Regions from separate parts of the Homo sapiens genome. Here region 2 is linked to region 1. The links are contacts of gene promoters, found by promoter capture Hi-C in human tissues and cell types (Jung and others, 2019). All regions are on one chromosome and are shown on one strand. The core of a region is centred on a gene start or on the middle of the fragment in contact, and the rest is flanking DNA. Distances in the headings are between cores, read along the strand shown.

Region 1 (5,019 bases), core at 1,592-4,091:
GCCAGGTGTCCCCAGACCTCTAACCCTTGCCCCTAGCAGCCTCTTCTTTGTGGAGCCTCTCAGTGTGGGCAGCCCTCGCATGCTGGGGTCGGGCCAGCTCTCCCCGAAAGGTCTTGACCTGAATGATGGCCGGGGAAGCCTGCGTGTGCCCCTTTCAGAGACGGAGCACCTGAGATGTGGGAGGTGCAGCATGTTCCCCTGGGCCCCTCAGAAAGTCGAGCTTGGAGGCCAGCCTGGATCTGTCTCTCCCTTCCCCTCCTGGGACCATTCTACCTGTGTTCTTTGACCCTCGGAGCAGGGACAGGCAAGACAACTGGCAAGCTTGCAGCTGCCCTGATGGTGCAGGTGCAGGGAGGTGACCATGTAACTCTGACCAATCTGGGAAGTGGAGGGTGGGCTCATGGGCCGTGCTCTGCCCCTGTCTGCTGCTCCCAGTCTCTCGCTCTGCCTGCCTGCTCAGAAGAGGTGGCTTTGGCCCAGAGGCTCAGGCCGGGACTGAGATGGACAGACCCAGGGTGGGGTGGGGTCCAGGTCGGGTGTGGACTGTCCTCACTGTCAGTGGAGCCCCAGAAGCTAGATGGGTACCAGGTGGGGTTAGGTTCCCAGAGGACTGAGGGAATCCTGTACAGGATGTCCCAGGGTAGATGGGGAGCAGGATTGGGACCTGCTCTGACAGCTGGACACATGAGCCCTGGATGAGTATGGTAGGGGGTTTGAAGAATCCCCTGTCCACCTCCCAAATCCAGGCCCGGCCCCCTCTGGCTTGGAGAGCATTCCAAGCCCCCACCCCACCCCTAGAACTGCCATTCCCAAGACCTCTGTCTCCCAGCCAACCACCCTTGGAACTTGCCTCTTGTCCTGCTGGAAAGATAGCAGTGTTCTCCTGACTTCGCCCTACTGCATGCAGCCAAATAAAAGGTGTGCCCAGTCTAACCTGTGCCCTGTGGTTTCTGGAAGGAAAGGCAGACTTTAGGTGGTCCTGCCTGGACCTGCAGATGGTACAATGGCATGGCTTCTGTCTAAGGTACAGAGGGGTTGGCATTTCAGGAACCAGGCCATCACAGAAACAGGTTCATGGGCAGACCCCTCAGTGAGCTGCAGGTATCTCACCTGGCAGCCGTCCAGTACTGCTGGCTTCCTCTGGAGGCCCAGCCACAGGCTGGGGTTGGGGTGTGTGGACATCTCTGGGCAGCTCTTGAGTCCACCTTGTGCCAGATCAGCAGTGCCACCCAGGCTCTGCCTCCTGGTGTTACTCTTTGCCAACAGCTTTACGGACATTGGATGAAGCCGAAGCATTTAGAATGGTGCCTGGCACACAGTTGGTGCGTGATATGGTTAAGCTTTGTGTCCCCACCCACATCTCATCTTGAATGGTAATCCTGGGTGTTTAGGGAGAGACCTGGTGGGAAGTGATTGGATTATGGGAGCGGTTTTCCCCCATGCTGTTCTCATGATAGTGAGTGAGTTCTCACGAGATCTGATGGTTTTACAAGTGACGGTTTCCCCGGCTCCCTCCTGCCGCCATGTGAAGAAGGTCGTTGCTTCCCCTTCACCTTCCACCACCATGATTGTAAGTTCCTTTTTTCTTTTCTTTTCTTTTTTTTTTTTTTTTTTTTGAGATGGAGTCTCGCTCTGTCGCCCAGGCTGGAGTGCAGTGGCGCAATCTCAGCTCACTGCAAGCTCTGCCTCCCAGGTTCGCGCCATTCACCTGCCTCAGCCTCTGGAGTAGCTGAGACTACAGGCGCCCACCACCATGCCCGGCTAATTTTGTTTGTATTTTTAGTAGAGATGGAGTTTCACCATGTTGGCCAGGGTGGTCTCAATCTCCTGACCTCGTGATCCACCCACCTCGACCTCCCAAAGTGCTGAGATTACAGGCGTGAGCCACCGCGCCCAGCGATTGTTTCTTGAGGCTTCCCCAGCCATATGGAACTATAAGTCAATTAAACCTCTTTCCTTTTATAAATCACCCAGTCTCGGGTATTTCTTTATAGCAGTGTGAACATGGACTATAATCCAGTGCTCAATAAGTACTCCTCACATTTAGCTATCTCAGTCAAGGGTGAGCTAGATAAGGGCTTTGGCCAGGGCAGGATCACCACCCACCAGCCCATGGCAAACTGCAAAAGGACGGCCTTCCACGGAGAACATGTAGCCCTGACTGCAATTAATGTGTCCTGGGCCAGTCCCCTTGTGCAGTACACAGCCTGCACAACCCTTGGTGGTTGCCTGAACAAGGTGCTTGCTAAATATTTGTTGACTGATGGAAGAAATTCATGAACTTAATCCTGATAAAAAACCTCAGAGGTTTTTTATTTTTTGAGACAAGGTCTGGCTCTGTCGCCCAGGCTGCAGTGCAGTGGTACAGTCTCCACTCACTGCAGCCTCCCAGGTTCAAGCGATTCTCCCACCTCAGCCTCCGGAGGAGCTGGGATTATAGACCTGTGCCACCACGCCCGGCTAATTTTTGTATATTTAGTAGAGACAGGGTTTTTGCCATGTTGGCCAGGCTGGTCTCGAACTCCTGACCTCAAGCGATCCTCCCCACCTCGGCCTCCCAAAGTGCTGGGATCACAGGCGTTAGCCACCTCCTAGCACCTCAGGTTTTTTACCTTTGAGTCTATGAAGCCTGCGGAGGTCACGCCCTAGGGAAAGAAGGAGCCCACTGGGTGTCAGGTCCTGCCTCTAGGGAGGGGACCGCGGGTCAAGGGTGGAGCCCTGGGCCGCATAAGGAAGGAACTAGTGCGGAGGTCCGGGGAGCGGCCGCGCGTTCGGGAGCTTCGGCCCTGCGTAGGAGGCGGGTGCAGGTGTGGGTGCTGAGCCGCCCGCCGCCTGGAGGGGGAGACAGCTTCAGGACACGCAGGCCGCAGCGAGGGCCCGGGCCCTGGGGATCCCAGGTTCGTCTTCCCGCGGCGAGGGTTAGGGGCCGGGCCGAGAGGGACGGCAGCGGGGTCCGGGGCGGGGGTGGGGACCGAGCGCAGCGCGTGACGCGGCGGCGGGGCCCAGCGACAACGAAGCCGAGGCCGTAGGCTCGGGCCGACCTGGAGCTCCGCCGCTGCGCCCAGGTCGCGTCCCCGGGGGGACGGGCGGCGGGCGAGTGGGGAGCCGGGGTCTCCGGCGCCTGGGCGTTCACGGAGCCTGCGGGCGCTGGTCCGGGCGGCCAGGGGTGGGGGGCGCGGGCGGCTGGGCCCGGACTTCGACTGGGGGCCTGGCCCCGGGGCCACCCAGGCGGAGGCTCTGCGGCCGCCTCCACCCCGGCCACATCCCGAGGCCGGCGCCGGGTTCGGAGAACTGTCAAGGGACCTCCAGGCCCCCACACGCCTGCGAGATCCGGCGCTTGCCTTGCCCCAGCCACAGTTTCTGTTTCCGAGAAACCGGTGAAGTAACAATGCCACTAGAGCTTGCTGGGAGGGTGGGTGCGGAGAAGGCGAGCACGAGACGCCGGGCCGGGCAGTTGGGGACCCCGATCGGTGTGAGAGGGCTTCCTAGGGCTGGCATGGACTTCCCCACCACAAAATGCCCAGGGCCGGGGGGGGGAAGGGGCGCAAGAAAATGCGGACTGGGCCAGAGACCAGACTTCGGTCACCACGGTGGGAAGCTATTGGTGCCTAGATGCCTCTAGCTTGGAGCCCAGTGACTTTTATTTCGTCTAGAGTCTAGACAGTGCCTTTAGAAGCTGCCAGCATTTATTTATTTATTTATTTATGGCAGAGTCTTGCTCTGTCACCCAGGCTGGAGTGCAGTGGCATGATCACGGCTCACTGCAGCCTCGACTTCCTGGGCTCAAGCGTTCCTCCTGCCTCAGCCTCCTGCATAGCTGGGACTACAGGCACGGGCCACCAGGCCTAGCTAATTTCTTTTTTTTTTTTTTTTTTTTTTTTTTTGAGACGGAGTGTCGCTCTGTCGCCCAGGCTGGAGTGCAGTGGCGCGATCTCAGCTCACTGCAAGCTCCGCCTCCCGGGTTCAGGCCGTCCTCCTGCCTCAGCCTCCCGAGTAGCTGGGACTACAGGCACCTGCTTCTCGAGTAGCTGGGACTACAGGCACCTGCAACCAAGCCCGGCTAATTTTTTGTATTTTTAGTAGAGATGGAGTTTCACTGTGTTAGCCAGGACGGTCTCGATCTCCTAACCTCGTGATCCGCCCACCTCGGCCTCCCAAAGTGCTGGGATTACAGGCGTGAGCCACCGCGCCCGGCCTTTTTTTTTTTTTTTTTTTTTTTTGAGACAGATTCTCACTCTGTTGCCCAGGCTGGAGTGCAGTGGCACGATCTCGGCTCACTGCAACCTCCGCTTCCCGGGTTCAGGTGATTCTCCTGCCTCACCCTCCCGAGTAGCTGGGACTACAGGCGTCCGCCACCACGCCCAGCTAATTTTTGTATTTTTAGTAGAGACGGGGTTTCGCCATATTGGCCAGGCTGGTCTCGAACTCCTGATCTTGTGATCCGCCCGCCTCGGCCTACCGAAGTGCTGGGAATACAGGCCTGAGTCTGTGCACCCGACCTAATTTCTTTTTTTCTAGAGACAGAGTCTCACTATGTTGCCTAGACTACAAGCATTTTTAATTGACAACTTTTACATTTTTTTTCAAATGCTTACAGTTGCTTCTCAGAACTTAGAAGACTTGGCCACATTGGGTTTTTTTGTTATTTTTTTTTTCCATCAAAGCATTTTTCTTTTCTCTTTTTTTTTTTTTTTTTTTTTGAGACAGTTTTGCTCTGTTGCCCAGGCTGGAGTGCCATGGAGCAATCATGGCTCACTCTGCTCCAGCAGGCTCCTTCTTTCCCTAGAGTGTGACCTCGGCAGGCCTCATGGACTGTAAGGTAGAAAAATCTGAGGGGCTGGGTTCGGTGGCTCACACCTGTGAGCTACTGCAGCCTTGACCTCCTGGGCTCAGAAGATCCTGACGCCATAACCTCCCAAGTAGCTAGGACCATAGGCACTCGCCACTATGCCCGGCGAATTTTTTCACTATTTATAGAGACGGGGCCTCCCTGTGTTGCCAAGGTTGCAAAGCCTTTTT
Region 2 (6,011 bases), core at 1,979-4,478, 1.1 Mb before region 1:
CATCTGAAGCAGATACAAACAGATTAGGCTGAGCTGCCCCAGAACAGCCAGAAGGAAAACCAGTACTTTAAAAACTGGTCGTCAGGTATTGGTTTAGAAAGAAAGTAGTTTGGAGAATGGGTGAGGACAGCCTGGTGAGTGATCCCGAGGTCACGGGCTGTCCTTGGGATGTGCTCAGATTCTTCTCTAGACCTGGAGAGCAACAGCCGTGCCTCACAAGCCCTTCTCCACATGTTTTGTTTTAAGATGGCAGAGCCTTTCTTTGCAGTTTTAGTTCAGCCTTGGGATGACGGTCAGACCTCGGTTTGTTCTTTTCTTTTCCAGTTTTCAGAGCCCAAGCCTGCTCCCTCTGTTGCTTGTCCAGCCTTGACCAGTGACTGTCTTCAGCCTGCACTCTGCATTTCACCCCAGCAGTAGGAAGAAGTGAGGTCAGAGGAGCACGTGAACCAGGGAGAATCGAATTCTCTTTGGATTTTGCTGGTCACACCCAGCAAAGCTGCTTTCTCTTCCCTTAAGTTCCAAGAACTGTTTGATGGCCTTAACTGCACAATTGGCTTGTGCCAGATTGAGATGTGTTGAACTGGGCAGTGGAGGTGGGGGTGAGGGGCAACTCCCTCTCCTATTGGGGGCAGAGTGCTGGCTGCATCAGGCAGTGATCAGATAGGCACTGATCGGGTCGGTTCACCCTCTGATATAGCCCGTATGCAGACTTCCTTTGAAGAGAGAGGAGTCAGGCTCATTAATTAAAGGAGCCTGGCTTGAGAGGCCTGTAATTATAGGTGCTAGAAATCTGAATTTTAAGAGGTTGTGCAGCTGCATTTTGAAAAATGTAGGGAGGCACCGAGAAGTACTGGTTGTGGGCAAGAATGTGGCTGAACCAGATTTTGGAGGTTCAGGTTTTGGCAGAATTCCCCTCCAAATTCATATTTATTCTTTCTTTCCATTTTGTTCTTTTTTTTTTTTCTAAATGGGAAGCAGAACCTGTGATTTTTTTTTTTTTTAAATGAAGGTTACACCCTGTGACCGAGAGGCTAGCATTGTCAGAGTATATGGGGGGCAGAAAGGAGTTGCTGTGAACTAGAAGATGCTTAGTTTTTGAGGAAACGGCACATCTTTGGGCCTTAGGGATTCAGTATTTGAAAAAAATTAAATAATTTCTTTCTTGAAATGAGTGAGGGGAGCAGGGAGCAGAAGCCCAATTTGAATGCAGTCTAGGGAAGTAAGTCCCAGGCAAATGGTGGACTCTAGAACCTTTGTCCCAACTTGACTTCCCCAGAAGTGTCTCTTCCTCTGTCATGCGTTACTTTTCCATGTGAACCCTGAGTTACAAACAGAAAATTTCAGACCTTTATGGGAAGTCCTGACCTGTGCCTTTTCTCTCTCATTTCCTCAGTTATTTGTAGGTTGACCTTTTGTTTTGGGTGCTTTTTCGCTCTCCTCTCCTTAAAAAAAAAGTATCCCTCTTTGCTTCTTGTCAAAAACCTTTATTTCGGTCCCTGACTATTTGCATCTCTGTTAATTAAGCATGGCTAATTTGATATGTAGATGGGATGGGGAGGGTTAAGGGTTAGATGAATAGAGGTCTACTCCCTGCCTCCCCCGGGTGGTGGGCAGGGGTGCTCCACAGACCTGCAAGACTGAACAGCTACACACGGCTGATGGCAAACCCGATGCCAGGGGGAACCTCCTCTCTGCCTCAGTGGTTTTGTCTCCTTGGGGATATTGAGAGCGTCATCCCGTTTCACAGACTGGACCCTCTGTGAAGGGCTGAAAAAATAAAATATAAAGGCCAGTTCTCTGTGCTCTTTTCTTACATTCTTGTAGTGTATATATTGGGAAATCCACGGGTGAACCCTTACACTGTAGAATAGAACACAAGTGTCCAAGACTCTCACTTGGTGCATTTACAATATGCAAATTCCAATTCCAATTAGATTGAAATCTCTATTTAGCAGAGTGGTTTTGTGAAATAAATAACTTTTGAAGAAGGAGGCCTGCTATATGTAATAAATATATATTTTTCCTTCAGTTGCCTGCATGGTGCTTCCTGCGTTCCCAGCCCTTGCCCGAAATGCTGATTCCGAAGCATCTTTGGGCTCTTTACAGAAGAGATGCTTCTCCTTCCCTTCCTGGCACAAGGATTTCATCCTTGATTTACAGTGCTCAGCTTGTTAGTGCCGGTGAAGGGGAGAGATGGTGTGAAGGTCGTTATGTCCGTTTTGTCCTCTTGGAGAGAAAGTGAGGGAGTGTGTTTCTTGCCGTGTGCTTGTCGTGGTAGTGGTGGAGTTGGAGAGGCCCCCACTTCTGTCAAAAGGAGTCGAGCCAAACTCTCATCCTCTCTTCTTCACCCTGTATACTACACGTTGTCCAACAGGGGGTGAATGATTTCAAAAGCGGAATTCAGAATTTCAGGAAGAGTAGCACACCACCGAGTAGAGGGCCTCCCCCTAACACCCCCCTTTTCATCATTCTCCCCTCCTCAGCCCAGCCGTGACAAACTGACAGATAATTAACAGATCAGACCCTCCTATTAGGCGTGCCCTGTGCTGGAAGCTGCTCTGGCTTTATGCAGTCCTTTAGCAGCTCTGTGTGTGTGGGTGGTGCCTCACTAAGTGGCCATAGCAGAGGGCAGGGAGTGCTTTGGGAAAAGCAAACAGAATGCTCTTTGGAAGAGAGAGTGCTTAAGAGGGAGAGCGGGGGCAGTAAGGTGCCTGGCTTGAAAGCACCTGGCGAAAAGACTCGGACTTTCAGGGTTGTGATCCGGAATACCACCGCCTGTCTCAGGGAATGGTGCGCTGGGTTATAATAGGATGCCTTATTACAAAAAACATTTTGAAGGCCACTTCCCAGGTCAGGCTATGCATTAGGTGCACTCTTCCTTCGGTGTAAGACTGTGCTGGACTTGCAAAATTGGAAGTGTGCAGCCTGTTGTGTTTCAGCCTTGGCATTAAATATTTCTACAGAGACACTGCCCTATGTGGCTTTCTCTCAGCTACCTAACTTTTCTTTCCCTGGTGGAAAGAAGAATTCATTGTGAGAATATTCATTTCTACTTACTAGTGACTTTTAAAAACTACTTTTCTTTGTTTTTGGACACAGGGACTTGCTGTGCTGCTCAGGCTGGAGTGCAGTGTGCAAACACGGCTTACTGCAGCCTTCACCTTCCGGCCGAAGTGATCCTCCCGCCTCGACCTCCATGTAGCTGGGACCATAGATGTGTGCCACCACACCCAGCTCATTTGAAATTTTTGTTGTTGTTGTTGAACAGAAGTGGTGAGAGTAAAATAAAAATAAATTAAATAAATAATATGTTTTGGTAGTGACAGGGTCTCACTTTGTTGCCCAGGCTGGGTCTCAAATTCCTGGGCTCAGGCGATCCTCTCACTTCAGTCTCCCACAGTGCTGGGATTACAGGCATGAGCTGTTGTGCCTGGCCTTCTTCTTCTTTTTTTTTTTTTTGTTTTTTTAACTAGAGACAAGGTCTCACTCTGTCACCCCAGGCTGGAGTGCAGTGCTGCGGTCATAGGTCACTGCAGCCTCAACCTTCTGAGCTCAAGCGATCCTCCTGCCCCAGCCTCCCAAGTAGCTAGGACCACAGGCATATGCCAACATGCCCAGCTAATTTTTAAATTTTTTGAAGAGACAGGATTTCACTGTGTTGTCTAGGCTGGTCTCAAACTCTTGGCCTCAAGTGATCCTCCCACCTTGGCCTCCCAGAGTGCTGGATTATAGTCATGAACCACCATGGCCGGCCCTGAAAACTACTTTTCTACTTCCCTTATGGTGGCCACCCTTCTCATCTTCATGATTTGAATATTAACATAAAGATAAATTTAGCAACATGTAGGGGCTACACGTAGGCTCAGGTCCTTAGGCCTGGCATGTTGGAGCAGAAAGAAACACCTAATTGCATCAAAACCACTCTAAGTTCATGTATGTGGAGCCCATCAAGCTGAAAGCATCCAGACAGCATCTGCTGTTATCAAATCACTCGTGAATCCAGCTAATTAAAATAGAGCTTCATTTTTCTGAACCATTGTTTGGCAGGAATTCGAAACGGGTCTAACCCAATTTCTGCATGTTTATGAGCCTTTATTATATCAGAGGTACTTTTCTGTAAATGTACAGGGCAGCGTTAAATGAATTGATCCACACAGTATCACTGTAGACGCACTATGGACTTGCTAATGATTTCTCTTCCAGCTTTCTGGTTTCCAGACATACTCTTGAAAGCTTTATCTTCTCTTTTTCTATCCTCTGCTCTTTGCCGTTGTCTTTTTTTTTTTTTTTAAACATTTTGAACTTTCCTTTTACTTTTTAATCTTCTTTTTTCTTTGGAAACAGGAAAACTATCCCCTTAAAGAAGTTTTCTTTTCCATTTCTCTTTTTCTTCCTCTCTTCCTGTTTTTGTTTTTCTTCTAGTGGATAAGATTTGTCTTTTCTTCCTTTATTTCTTGCTGTTTTCTATTCTCTCCTTTTCTTTTCTTTTTCTCTCTTATCTTTTCTCCCTTTTATACTTTCTCCCATTCCTTTTCTCTAACCTTCTCTTTCTCCTTTTTCTCTTCTTTCTATCTCCTCCCATTTTCCCTAATAAAATATCCTTATACCTTTGTCTCCACATGCAAATACTGACTAGGGAAGATGGGGGTGCCCGTGGAGGCAGAGCTATCTGGCTGCTCTAAGATGATGTCAGCTGAGTTTACTTCTCTGAATTTGCTTTCATGCTTTATTTTAGGTTTTAAAAAGATTTTTCAAGCCACATCTACTCTACTTTATAGTCTGTAATCCTACTTTGAAGATGAAAAGTGTTACATAAATGCTAACTAATTATTCCTTATACCACTTTGTGAGTCTCTAAGCAGTATTAGTTCCAGTTTACAGATGAGGAAGCAGGAACGGGAAAGGTAAGTAGCTCTGAAAGTTACTGAAGAAGTTGGTGACTGAGTTAGAATTAAACCTGGCTCATCTTTGGCTTTGCTTTTTGATTACCACCTTATGGGTGTTGACTTTTTTCCCCCCTAAGAATCATACATATTTAAGGTGAGGTTGAGTGAATACCATCCCCTTGGCCCCTTCTCATTATATACTTTTAACCTTCTGAAGTTTCATTTGTAGTCTTTAGATGTTAAATGAATTTCTAGGTAATTCCTGGGAAAGAAGGATGCTGAACCACTTGTGGGCTGGTAAAAACCCTGTCTATTAGTCTTAAAGCAGAGTGCTCACTTTCTCTTTCCAACAGCTTCCAGTAAGTGGGCCCACGTCACACACTGGCCCCAGTGATCGTAGTGTTGTAGGAAGCGCTGCCATATTTGATTGAATTTAGCCATTCTGGAATGACGTGTTCATGAAGTCGGCTCTTGCATTACCGTGGCCTTTATTATTGCTAATGCATTCTGACATTACAGGTGTAGCCTTGGCTCTCCCAGAAAGGGCAAGGCTGCTCTTACCAAACGAAAGAGCAGAATTTATGAAACTGTTACACAGTGAGGCCAGTGTTCACCTTTAGTTACTAAGCAGAGTAAGGGAAATAAATGCTTTTATAGAAAAGATAGCCAGTGACAGCAGTCTATCCTGATTCCTCACCCAGCACTGTTTCAAAAAGTGGATCAATTAATATTGTTGCCAGACAGAGAACGAGGACCAATGGTTAGGAGGTTCAGGAAAGTAGATTTCAACTCAGTTTAAAGAGGCACTCCTGAAAATGAGCTGACAGTCTCTTAAGGGAGTAGTTTCCCTGCTCATTATGAGCATTCAAGAGGAGGCTTCCTGATCATTTGTCAGGGTTGTTGGAGAGGGGAGTCCCTAGGTCATGGGTGGGACCAGATGGCTCAAGATCTCTTTTGGCTTGTTTCCTCATCTTAGATTGCTACAGCACAAACAGCATCTTTCCTGCTTCTATTTTGACTTTACAAGTGGCTGGTGTACCGTGAGGACCTGTGAATGCTCAGTAGCTATTCATTATTTAATCTCTGGCTTCCTGCTTCTTAATCTAACATGAATCAAAGCTGTTC

The links. The method cuts DNA at HindIII sites, captures the fragments that hold promoters and counts their contacts. A contact is called where the count stands out against the background at its distance.
Region 2: a contact is called between a fragment that was not itself captured here and the fragment with the promoter of FBXO6 in region 1, in 1 of the 25 tissues and cell types used here (aorta).

Annotation. Positions count from the first base shown.
Region 1 is chr1:11,661,359-11,666,377 of GRCh38, forward strand. FBXO6 (F-box protein 6) reads left to right here and starts at 2,842. Exons shown (of 6, transcript NM_018438.6): 1 at 2,842-2,897. FBXO44 (F-box protein 44) reads left to right here. Exons shown (of 6, transcript NM_033182.7): 6 at 1-1,969. RefSeq lists silencers at 2,908-3,127, 3,178-3,247 and an enhancer at 3,368-3,417. The HindIII fragment of the contact is 9,200 bases long and covers 831-5,019 here.
Region 2 is chr1:10,516,704-10,522,714 of GRCh38, forward strand. The region is part of intron 2 of PEX14 (peroxisomal biogenesis factor 14); the gene reads left to right. Among named protein-coding and RNA genes, the nearest start is that of PEX14, 45 kb to the left of the region's middle. The HindIII fragment of the contact is 4,142 bases long and covers 1,158-5,299 here.